2 separate regions of the Homo sapiens genome follow, and region 2 is linked to region 1. Evidence: promoter capture Hi-C in 16 types of primary human blood cells and fetal thymus (Javierre and others, 2016). All regions are on one chromosome and are shown on one strand. Each heading gives the region's core, a stretch centred on a gene start or on the middle of the fragment in contact. The rest is flanking DNA. Distances are from core to core; before and after follow the strand shown. Region 1 holds the start of COLCA1 (colorectal cancer associated 1). Region 2 has its middle 61 kb from the start of POU2AF1.

Region 1 (4,959 bases), core at 1,262-3,761:
GAGCTACTGTCTGTTTTCTCTTAAGCAAGTCTACAATTGTTACTGAGAAAACCTAACTTGGAGGCTGGGAAGGAACTGGGTCACTGGGGCCCCATATTTTCCCCGTGACAATGTGCATATTCTGCAGAGTTAATTTCCCATCCGCTCTAAAATTTAGTCTGATGCCCACACAGACTTTTGACAATCCAAAGGCAAAAAGTATTTACATTCCTTAAAAAAGAAAACTTTACAATTTAAGGTTTACAAAACAAACCTGTGAGTCTCTAAAAGACAACTGAAATAACTAGTTTCCACTAATAGAAACCTTACTTCATTTTGAAGGATAACACATTTTCAAACATTTGAGATCCACCGAGAACAACCAATTTAATTTTTTTCAAAGATTACGGCTTCATTTTTACTAACCATCTCAGACCCAAATGAGTTATTGTGCTTATAGCAGACTCAAACTATCAGTTAGTAGAGCCAGTTCAATGACAAAACAAAGCAAAACCTCCCCCTAATGAAATGAAGTTTGTTACCATATATACACAGCCTTAATTCCATTTCCAAGAACTCAAAATTCCATCAAAAAATCCAAGAGCCATTGTTTAAACCACTGACTTCCAATTAGTAGGTCTCTTGACTTTACAGTTTAAAAAACATTAAATGAATATTGCCAGGAACCTCTTTTTATTGCTACCCACCAACTTACTTGGTGGCCGAAAAATCTAAATCTTGGGAAATCTAAATTACGTGTGTATCCAAAGGTTTATGCCCTGCAGTGTGTGGCTACTTCTATACATTGACTTTTAAATTCTTCTCTGCTTGTTTCCTTGGATGATTTCCTTGCTGATAGTTTTTGTATGATTTCCCACGGGATGGTGCAAACTCACAAAGCACTATTACCCCATAGTTAGACACAATCAGGTATATAAAGAACTGAGAAAAATTACCAGGCTCTGGTTAAAGCAGAAAGGGGTGGCCTGGAAGCTGTCTGGGAAATGGTGTGGAGCACTTTGTGTGGAATTGAGCAAAGGCTCCGGGTGCATCTCTGTCTGAAGGTAGGAATCAAAGATCTGGTCGAGGCAGCTTGAGTTTTCTTCACATGAAACACAACTGGAAAATTCTCCCCGTTGCAAATAATTGGGCGTGGAAGAAATTGGTTCAGGCTCAAAATACAGTCCTAGAGGAGAAAGGAAAAAGGCAGGTTTTTGCATAAAAATTGCAAAACACAGATTTGAATGGAGATCTATACTCTGAATATTTACTATGTCTAGGGGGAAAGGGGGCTTAACAAATCCAGAAAAGTAAACGGGAATGCAATTTTGACTCTTTAGTTGTCCTAGCTAATTCAAGCTCCAGGGAAATGAACATGGTTAATAATGTGGAAACTGGCTGTAAAACTGGTTAGGGCAAAAATAAAAGGATGGTGACCCAATTTGTGTCCAAGTGTCACAGTCAAATAATGGCTCAAACTTCCCCTTTCTTGGGCTGTAAAACCATGGACATCCAGCCCCTACCGGCAGTTCACGTAAACCTCTCAGAAGTAACTGACAAAGTTGTTGAGGCTTTGAGAAAACTTCTGATGCTACGGGAAATAATTCTTTTGACTTATGGTGATTGCTTTTTTGAACTTTTCACTCTTACTCAGTAACTTAAGTTTGGAGGAGAGAATTTTGAGAAGTGATTTAAATGAGAATGCAAATGATAATCATGGAAACCAGGAACATAGAGTACCAATTAACACTATTGGCTCGGAAGTACAAAAAGCAAAAATGTTTTCTCAGTGAACATGTTAACATCATGATGTGATCAAAGTAAGTTGTTAAACATCAAACAAAGATAATCAGTAAACATTACTCCTTTTCCATTTTATTATTAATAGGCCCAATTTGTGATAATTATCTGTAAATGCTGGAAGAAGAGAGGATTAGAGTGTGCTCATCAAAGGGACTAAAGGACACTGTGTTCTTCTTGAGGTCTCAAGTTCCTTTAAGGTGAAGCTACGGTGACACATTTAGTGGGGAGAGGCCATAGGCAGAGGTTTCCTTATATACGACCTCCTTAAACTCTTAGCTGTTGAGTAGCAGAGGTAGGAGTGTTTATGTAATCGAGTTATTCTTATTGGGCTGAGAAAACCTACACTTGTTTGAACTGCTTTCTGGGAACAGAGAAGGGGAGGGAAGCCCCTGTCGGCTGGAAACTAAAGGAACAGAGCAAAGGCATTATTTGAGTGTCTTGGGATGTTCTGTATTCCATCTAACAGTGCACTAAAAAAAGATAAGTTCCTGAGAACAATTCTGATTTTGTAGTTCAGTTTAGTTACTTGGCGATGAGGAACTGGAATAAATGTGAAGAACAAACTCTTGAGACAATATAGCAGAGAGTAGAGAATTCAGAAATGAAGACAACATTTATGCTTGTTTTCTTGCTGGGCTTGCATGTGGAGTGACTATGCCTTTTTCACCTTCTGATTGGTTGGATTCCAATTAAATGGTGGTGCCTATCTTAACCCCTGAATCAAGACTGAAAGACTTTTGAGATGGACTTTTGAAAGAGTGTTTGAGGGAACTGTTAATGCTGGCTGTACTGACCTGCAGAAGATGGTGCAACTGGGTCTGAAAGGTGGACACTGCTGCCTCCGGACCGCTGTCAAAGCAAGAATATCACCGTGAAGCAGGCTGAAAGAAATGCTCTGAAGGGAAAGCTAAGACATTTTGATGAGGACTATGTTTCTTTCTGCTATAAGGTAAGCCAGATTCTTCCTTCTCAGAAAAAGTTGCTTTCTTTTTTTTTTTCAATGTTTGACAAATTTTTGTACAAAATATATTGTAAAAAACAAGTGAAAGGGAAAGTGTCAACAAATATTTTATAGAATTTGAAAGACAGGTGCATAGAATTGCGGTAGGTGTATTAAGTCCGTGTAGAATTTAAAATGCCTTTTGACGTTTATAATCCTTTTAAGATTCAATCTGGAAAATTGCATTGGAACAATGAAAACCTGAAATCGAATCATAAAACAGACTTCTTAAATACAACCAATATTATGTTTTATCTAGATCCAATATTTATGTTTGCTTGCTTGGGGAGTTTTTTTCCTAATATCAGATTCTTCTACTTAAATTTTAAAAGTGATTAATTTTTAGTAAAAAATTAATGTAAATAATTTTATGTGGTAAAAATGTAACAGTTTGAGAAAATGCAGCAAAAGGCTTCCTATTAAACTATTCGATTTAAAATTATTAAGGACTAACATTTATTTAATCTCAACTATCTATGGCTTAGTCAATTATTTTTCTCAAAAATTTCATATACCATCTGGCTACTTAGCCTTAGGGAGTCGTTTCCCCAAAGAACACAATTCTTAATTTTGTTAATTCTGAGTAGCTAAAAATATTCACATGTTCTTAGTATACATGAAATATTAAAATAGAAAATATTTTCTTAAAGCTGTGGTTGGTGAGTTGGAACCTACTTTCATTCTAGTTAATGGTCGGGAATTATTCCAGTACTTTGTATGTTTTGTACTACTATCTATAAAAGTTGCTTTTATTTAAACTACTGTATTTAAATACTTAAAAGTTTATGAGACTGCTCTTTTTAACTATTCAAAGTAAAGCAGCCTGCATTTTTCAGTTGAATTAATAATTATACTGAGTAATTTAGGATTTTTTTTTTTTTTTTAAATTTCAGGTGTGGCTTTAAAGTTTAAAGGTACCCGTATTGCTCTGTGATTCTGTGCTGGGAAGCCGAGCTCACCACACCTCTTTTGGGTTACAGGGCATACTCACTCCCATACTCTGAGCCACAGGGAGAGCTGTGCAGGCAGCCACTGCTGAAACAGGAGGCAGTATTAATTTTGAAAACGATCCATGCTGTAATGTCATGAACCAGGAAGCTGGAATCCTTTACCAGCTCTTTATGCAAATATTTGGCTGCAGCTTGAGCTGAAGGACTTGGAAGGAGTGGGTATTAAAAAATCTGCCTCATTGTAGAGCTTTCCTTAACTCCATTCCTCCCCCGGATTGGCCTGTTTGTCTGCCTCCACCCCATGTTATCTCCCTGAGGTGTGTTTACAATATCCTACTTGATATTATCTTTCTAGTCATGGGTTCACTTTCTACTTTGCTCCAAGAATACAAAGAAAGGCAACTCTCTCTTAGATTTCAAACAGCACAAAAATTCACAGTCTACAATTTATAAAAACACATCAAGGCTGTTTAAAAAATTAATGATTTAAAAAAAGAAAGGTAAATGATATCTTTTGATAACGACTAACTCAAGTTTCCTTTTACCCCAAAGGCAAGTGTGTGTGTGTCTGTGTGTGTGCGTGCATGCGCATGTTTGCAAATTGATCTGGCTGAAATAAGTTTTTTAAAATCGAGTGTTCCAATCCGGCATACACACAGTTTCTTCCGGCACTGCTTGAAGAATATTTGAATTCTTTACTGAATGTCTGTCTCAACCTATAACTTCCATTCGTGATTGCCTTCTTAAAATTTTAAATTGTGGATACTACACTGACTTTATAACAAATTAAGATAGATTTCTTGCCACTTTGTAGTATTTGATATAATTAACCCTCTCCTTGGCTTAAAGTTTCCCAGAGGCATCCTTCAACAAATGAACAAACTGGGGATCATCTCTGTTATACCAGAAAGGTCTACACTAAGAAGCAGGCAACATCATCCCCTGGTGTCTGCTACCCTTGCCTACTAAGTACGCTCTCACAGCTTCTTTAGAATCCCAGATCCATCCGATGGCTTCCAGTGAGGGATTTTACGTCTGGCTTTTGTAATTAAATTATATGCGTGTTAAACCTGCTTGCTTGCGAGGGCATAGGCTGATGCAGTCTTAAGGGAAGCAAAGTAGAGCAGGCTTTACTCTGCCTGTTCCTATAAGACACTGGTTCAGAAGTCCTGCTTTATTTCTCAGGAGGGAATTCAGAAAAATTTAAATAAGTCAAACTACTCCGGG
Region 2 (4,959 bases), core at 708-3,207, 140 kb before region 1:
CCTCCCTGGCTCAAGTGATTCTCTTGCCTCGACCTCCTGAGTAGCTGGGACTACAGCTGTGCACCACCATGCCTGGCTAATTTTTTGTATTTTTATAGAAATGGGGTTTCACCATGTTGGCCAGGCTGGTCTCAAACTCCTGACCTCAAGTGATCCACCTGCCTCGACCTCCCAAATTGCTGGGATTACAGACGTGAGCCACCGCACCTGATCTCATCTCGTATATTTCCTGTCCCCGTCCTAGAATTGGCCATATCCCCAAGGAGTTCTGGTTCCTTTTTATTGGAGAATGTTATTAGAAACCAAAGTCTGGGTGTTAGCTATGCTCTGGTCTCTTATGTTCAACTCACTTTTCTTTCTTTTTTTGTTTTTTGAGATGGAGTCTTGCTCTGTCACCCAGGCTGGAGTACACTGGTGCGATCTCGGCTCACTGCAACCTCCTCCTCCCGGGTTCAAGTGATTCTCATGCTTCAGCCTCCTGAGTAGCTGGGATTATAGGCATGCACCACCATGCCTGGCTAATTTTTGTATTTTTAGTAGAGATGGGGTTTCACCATGTTGGCCAGACTAGTCTTGAACTCCTTACCTCAAGTGATCTGCCTGCCTCAGCCTCTCAAGGTGCTGGGATTACAGGCGTGAGCCACCATGCCCGGCCCAACTCGCTTTGCTTTTCCCTTTCTGTTAATGCTTCTGTCCCCTGCCCGTCAACCATGGGGGTTTCCCAGGATTAGTCACACATTCAAGTCAATAACAAGGAGTTCTTACCCTGTACAAGAACTTCATGAGATCAAAAGCGAGGCACAGTCACGGAGTTTATAGTCAGGCGTGGGAGAGGCATGGATATATTATAAACAGCCCAAGAGCAGACAAGGACAGAGAAGTCAATCCGTAAGGCATCTCTAAGGAACTCATGACTAATTCAGACTGTGGGATCTGGGAAGTCTCTGAGCTGAGAGTTGAAAGAAGAAGGGTGGTGTATTCTCTGTGGTCTGTTCCCAAGCCCATAAAATCTCCCTTGACTCTGGTGCTCAAGGAGCCATCTCTCTCTCGGAGGAGCCGCTGCTGATGCTCTAGTTTGCTTCTCTCTTCCTTCTCAATACTCCTTCCTTCCTGTGGGAACATGAGCAGACCCTGTTCTCTCCCCTACTCCCCAGAGCCCTGAGATATTACATTATGAGATTTTCTTTGCTAATATTTTATTTCTTAAGTTAGGTTGTGGGTACATGGGTGTTTATTATTGTATTCTTCATTCCTTTTTGTATGGCTTGCATATTTCATAATAACATTTGAAATGTATTTGTGAAAAAAAAAAAAAAGAAAAGAGAGCGGTCTCTGGCCCTGGCCTGTGTGACCTTGTGCCCTCACTCCAGGAACCAAGACTCTGCCAGATGACTGCCACTCCCAGCCTAAGCCTGGGAAAGTGCAGCTGGTCTGGGCCAGATGGGTCTGCGGGTGCCTGTCTGACCAGGTATTGCATACATGTTGATGTGACTCAGTACCTAAGTGGTGTGGCAGATAGTCACCTATCCCCTCCTCACTCTCCTTGTCCCCTCATCTCCATGACCCACCTCTGACTTCTGTAGAGTCTCAGAGCTGCAACATAGTGACAACCCTTCTCTACAGCAGGTGCTTGTTGCTGGTGCCATTCTGCAAGGGCTGGATGGGACAAGTCTGGGGCATTCCCCCTGTCTTGGGGCAGCATCTTCGCCTCAGCACTGACCTGACTCAAGCTTCCTTATCTCCCATCTAAAGCTATCTGTGAACAAAAATCTGAAAAGGGCAGATCTAGGTCTGGCAGCAACTGAGAAAAACCAAAGTTCCTGCCAACAGCCAAGGTAGGTAAGAGGCAGGCCAAACGGGGTCAAATGGGGACACCGCCCAGGGGTAGGATGTTGGTTTGAGTCTCTGGGGAAAGAATGGAAAGGATGTCAGCTCCTAGTACATGCAGGCTGGTAACTGTGATGTTCTATTTGCAAGGATAGGTTATTTAGACATTGGGACCAGGAAACTCTGTCTCTGAACTAGTTACAGGGGCTGGTGGCTTCTGAAAAGACCTCTTTAGCTGGTGTGACAGATTAAAGATGTTGCAATTTCTTTTCTTTTGAATCTGCTTGACTAATAGAATGTAGCAGAAGTGAGATTCTGGGATTTTAGAGCCTAGGTCATGTGAAGGCTTGAAGCTTCTGCAGAGTTCTTTTGGGACACTCTCTCTGGGAGCCTTGATCTGCTAGGCTGGAGAGGCCATGTGCAGGCCCTTTGCTCAACAGTCCCAGCTGAGCCAAGCCTTTTAGCCATACTCACTAAGTCACCAGCCATGAAAATGAAACCATCTTAGATCCCAGATCACAGAGTAACCCCAGCCAATGCCAACAGAGCAGACTTACCCAGCTGAGCCCTGAACAGGTTTCTGAACTACAGCACTGTGAGATAAAATAAAACAACCGTTGTCTTAGGCTGCTAAGTTTTGAGATTGTTTGCTACACAAAAACAGATAACCAAGATGGCTGGGGCACCCCTATTCAGGCCACCAGTTCAATGACCAACTTCCAATTCCCGCATCAATATGAGAGATGGAGGATCATGGCTCATTCTCAAAATGACCGGGCGGAGGAGCTGGAGCCAAAACGTAAAGTGCTGAGCATGTCTTTGAAAGGGTCTTCTAGAGGCTCTTTGCTTGGGATGGCTCTATGACTCCTATAGGTGAAGTGCTGAAGTAAATAGGAAAACTGACCTAGGAATGGCCTCCAGATGATGAGGCAAAGTGTGCAGAAACTGAGAGGGGGTGTGAGTCTGGGAGGGGAAGTACGAGGGGGCTGGACGGCATCTGGAAGAGGAAGGTCCTGAGAGACACATAGGAGGGAGCTGGGTTCTGGGAGGAGGACTTGGGGATGAATGTTTCTGTAAGGGAAGTAGAGGGCGGTGGGGGGCACCGAGAGTACAGGCAGCCTTGAGCTGGTGTCTGGCCAAGGGTTGTAGCAGTCCTTGGGCTGGTGTCTTCTCCTGCTCCATCTGCGGCTGTGCTGGGCTCTCTTTAAAGAGCCCTTCTGGGCATCCAGATGAGCTCACACAAACAGTGCAGGTGCAGGTCTGGCCCGTAAACCACAACAACTGGGGCCTGTGCTGCCACAATGCGCTGGGCAAAGCCTCCAGAGGGGGAGAAAGGGTGACTATTTGTTTAGCATCATCAGCAAGAGTTCCAGAACCCATCAAAAGCAAAGCAGAAACTTTTGTATTAAGGAGATTAAACTTTAAACTCAGCTGAGAAGGCTCTGCTGTTTGAGTGGCTTTGTTGTGCCTGGCATTGTGTGATTATATGCAAATCACCAGGAAGCCTCCCTGGGGTCCCAACCGCAGAGGCTTAGCTGCCCAGCGGGTGGGTGTGCGGGACAGGGGGCAGCCCACGTGCTAGTCAGGTAACACCCAGTACCCAGGCCGGGGCAGCCTGCTTTCCCTTAAGTTCAGGGAATTGGGGATTTGAAAATATGTTTAATGTGTTGGCCAGAGATTTCTGGTGGATGGATAGGACAGCAGGGACAGAGGTGCCACCGGGAAGGTATAAATGGAAACCTAAGACAGTGTCCAGTTAGGACGGGGGAGGTTCACATATCCAGGGACCCCCTGACCACATCACGCCTTCTTTAGCATCCTCTCTTTTGAAGCTTAGGGTAATGTATGGGGTCACCAAGGAGATGAGGAAATGTTTTGGTTTTCCTGTGGCCATTCAGAATAAGGACTTGGGAGGATTATCCTGAGTTTATTGATCCAGAAAATGTTTAATGTTTACTCTTGGCAAGGTGCAGAGCTAGGTGCTGGCGGTGGTGGGTGAGAATGGAGATGAATAAAATGTCTCTGTTGTTGAGGAGTTTACAGAGAAGATGTTTACCCAGATAACTAAAATACCTGGCAACATTTGGTAAGCGCTGGGGGAAATGGCCCATGAGAGTGCCTGGCTTTGGACAGAGGCTAACTGAAGGGGTCGAGGAAGGTTTCACAGAGAAAGAACAGAGTCAGGCCAGAGGTGGAGGCTGCATGAGCCAAGGAATTCCTGTTGAGAAGGGCAGGGTGCAGGCTGGCTGTGTGCCCTGGCTCACATGGTGTCTCAGGGGCTGTGGGGAAGACAGATTGTGCATATTGGGGCCCAAGTTCCAGGCTAGAATTTGGCCCACACAAATTGGAGTCAGATGTCTAACCCACAAAGTTAGGTCTAGGGACTCTGGGACCCCGTGTCAGCACTTGCAGAACTGCCATCAGGGTGACACCAGAGACCTCTGTGTCCCGTCTGTTGATGCCTCTGTGGCTGCCCTGGCAGCCCCCTTCCCCTCTTCCTTTAAGCAGCATCTACAACTGCTTCTCAGCCCTTAATAACAGGGTCAGCTTGGACATCTCCAAGGCTCTACTTCCTGGTGGGTGTAGAATGTTGTCTAGTATAGTCAGAGTCATAGCTGTCAGTTCCCCTCTGCTTGGGGGGCTATGGGCCTGGCTGGGGTCCTGCAGATCTGGGTTGAGGATGAGAGTGGAATGAGCTTGGTCCTTGGGCTATTAGACATGTTGAGGATAGAGATCATTAAAGATATGACCAGGGCTGAAAAGAAAACCCAGGAAGGCTGAGTAGCTAAGCTATCAACACGAGAAACTGGGCAGAGTAGCAGAAGCAAGTAAGAGACCCCAGGATGGAAACTGCAGAGTGTCGCCTAGGAGTGGAGGGAAGAGCCTGCTCCTGAGCTGCTGGGTAGTGGTGGGGATGCAATGGGGATACAGGTGGGGGTCTAGGCACTCGCTGTTGTAGCTCTAGCCTCAGGCAAGGCGGTGAGGATGCTCAGAGGCTCTCCGGCCCCTCCAGCCTTCAGTGGCTGGTTCACTGGCATTGGCCTAACCTTCTTGCAGAGGGAGCCACACCAGTCCTCAAGTTGAGCACAGCTCTTGGGCCCAGATTGGAGCATGGTGATTTGGGAATGAGAA

What was found. The method cuts DNA at HindIII sites, captures the fragments that hold promoters and counts their contacts. A CHiCAGO score of 5 or more calls a contact.
Region 2: a fragment that was not itself captured here is called in contact with the fragment with the promoter of COLCA1 in region 1 in 4 of 17 cell types (activated CD4 T cells, non-activated CD4 T cells, total CD4 T cells and 1 more); the score reaches 6.8 in activated CD4 T cells.

What each region holds. Positions count from the first base shown.
Region 1 is chr11:111,302,600-111,307,558 of GRCh38, reverse strand. COLCA1 (colorectal cancer associated 1) reads left to right here and starts at 2,511. Exons shown (of 2, transcript NR_169237.1): 1 at 2,511-2,731. POU2AF3 (POU class 2 homeobox associating factor 3) reads right to left here. Exons shown (of 5, transcript NM_001271458.2): 3 at 2,577-2,631; 4 at 936-1,165. The HindIII fragment of the contact is 13,879 bases long and covers 1-4,959 here.
Region 2 is chr11:111,437,473-111,442,431 of GRCh38, reverse strand. It overlaps a transcript of BTG4 not described here. Among named protein-coding and RNA genes, the nearest start is that of POU2AF1, 61 kb to the right of the region's middle. RefSeq lists enhancers at 512-1,711, 2,548-3,134 and silencers at 3,043-3,112, 3,133-3,182. The HindIII fragment of the contact is 450 bases long and covers 1,733-2,182 here.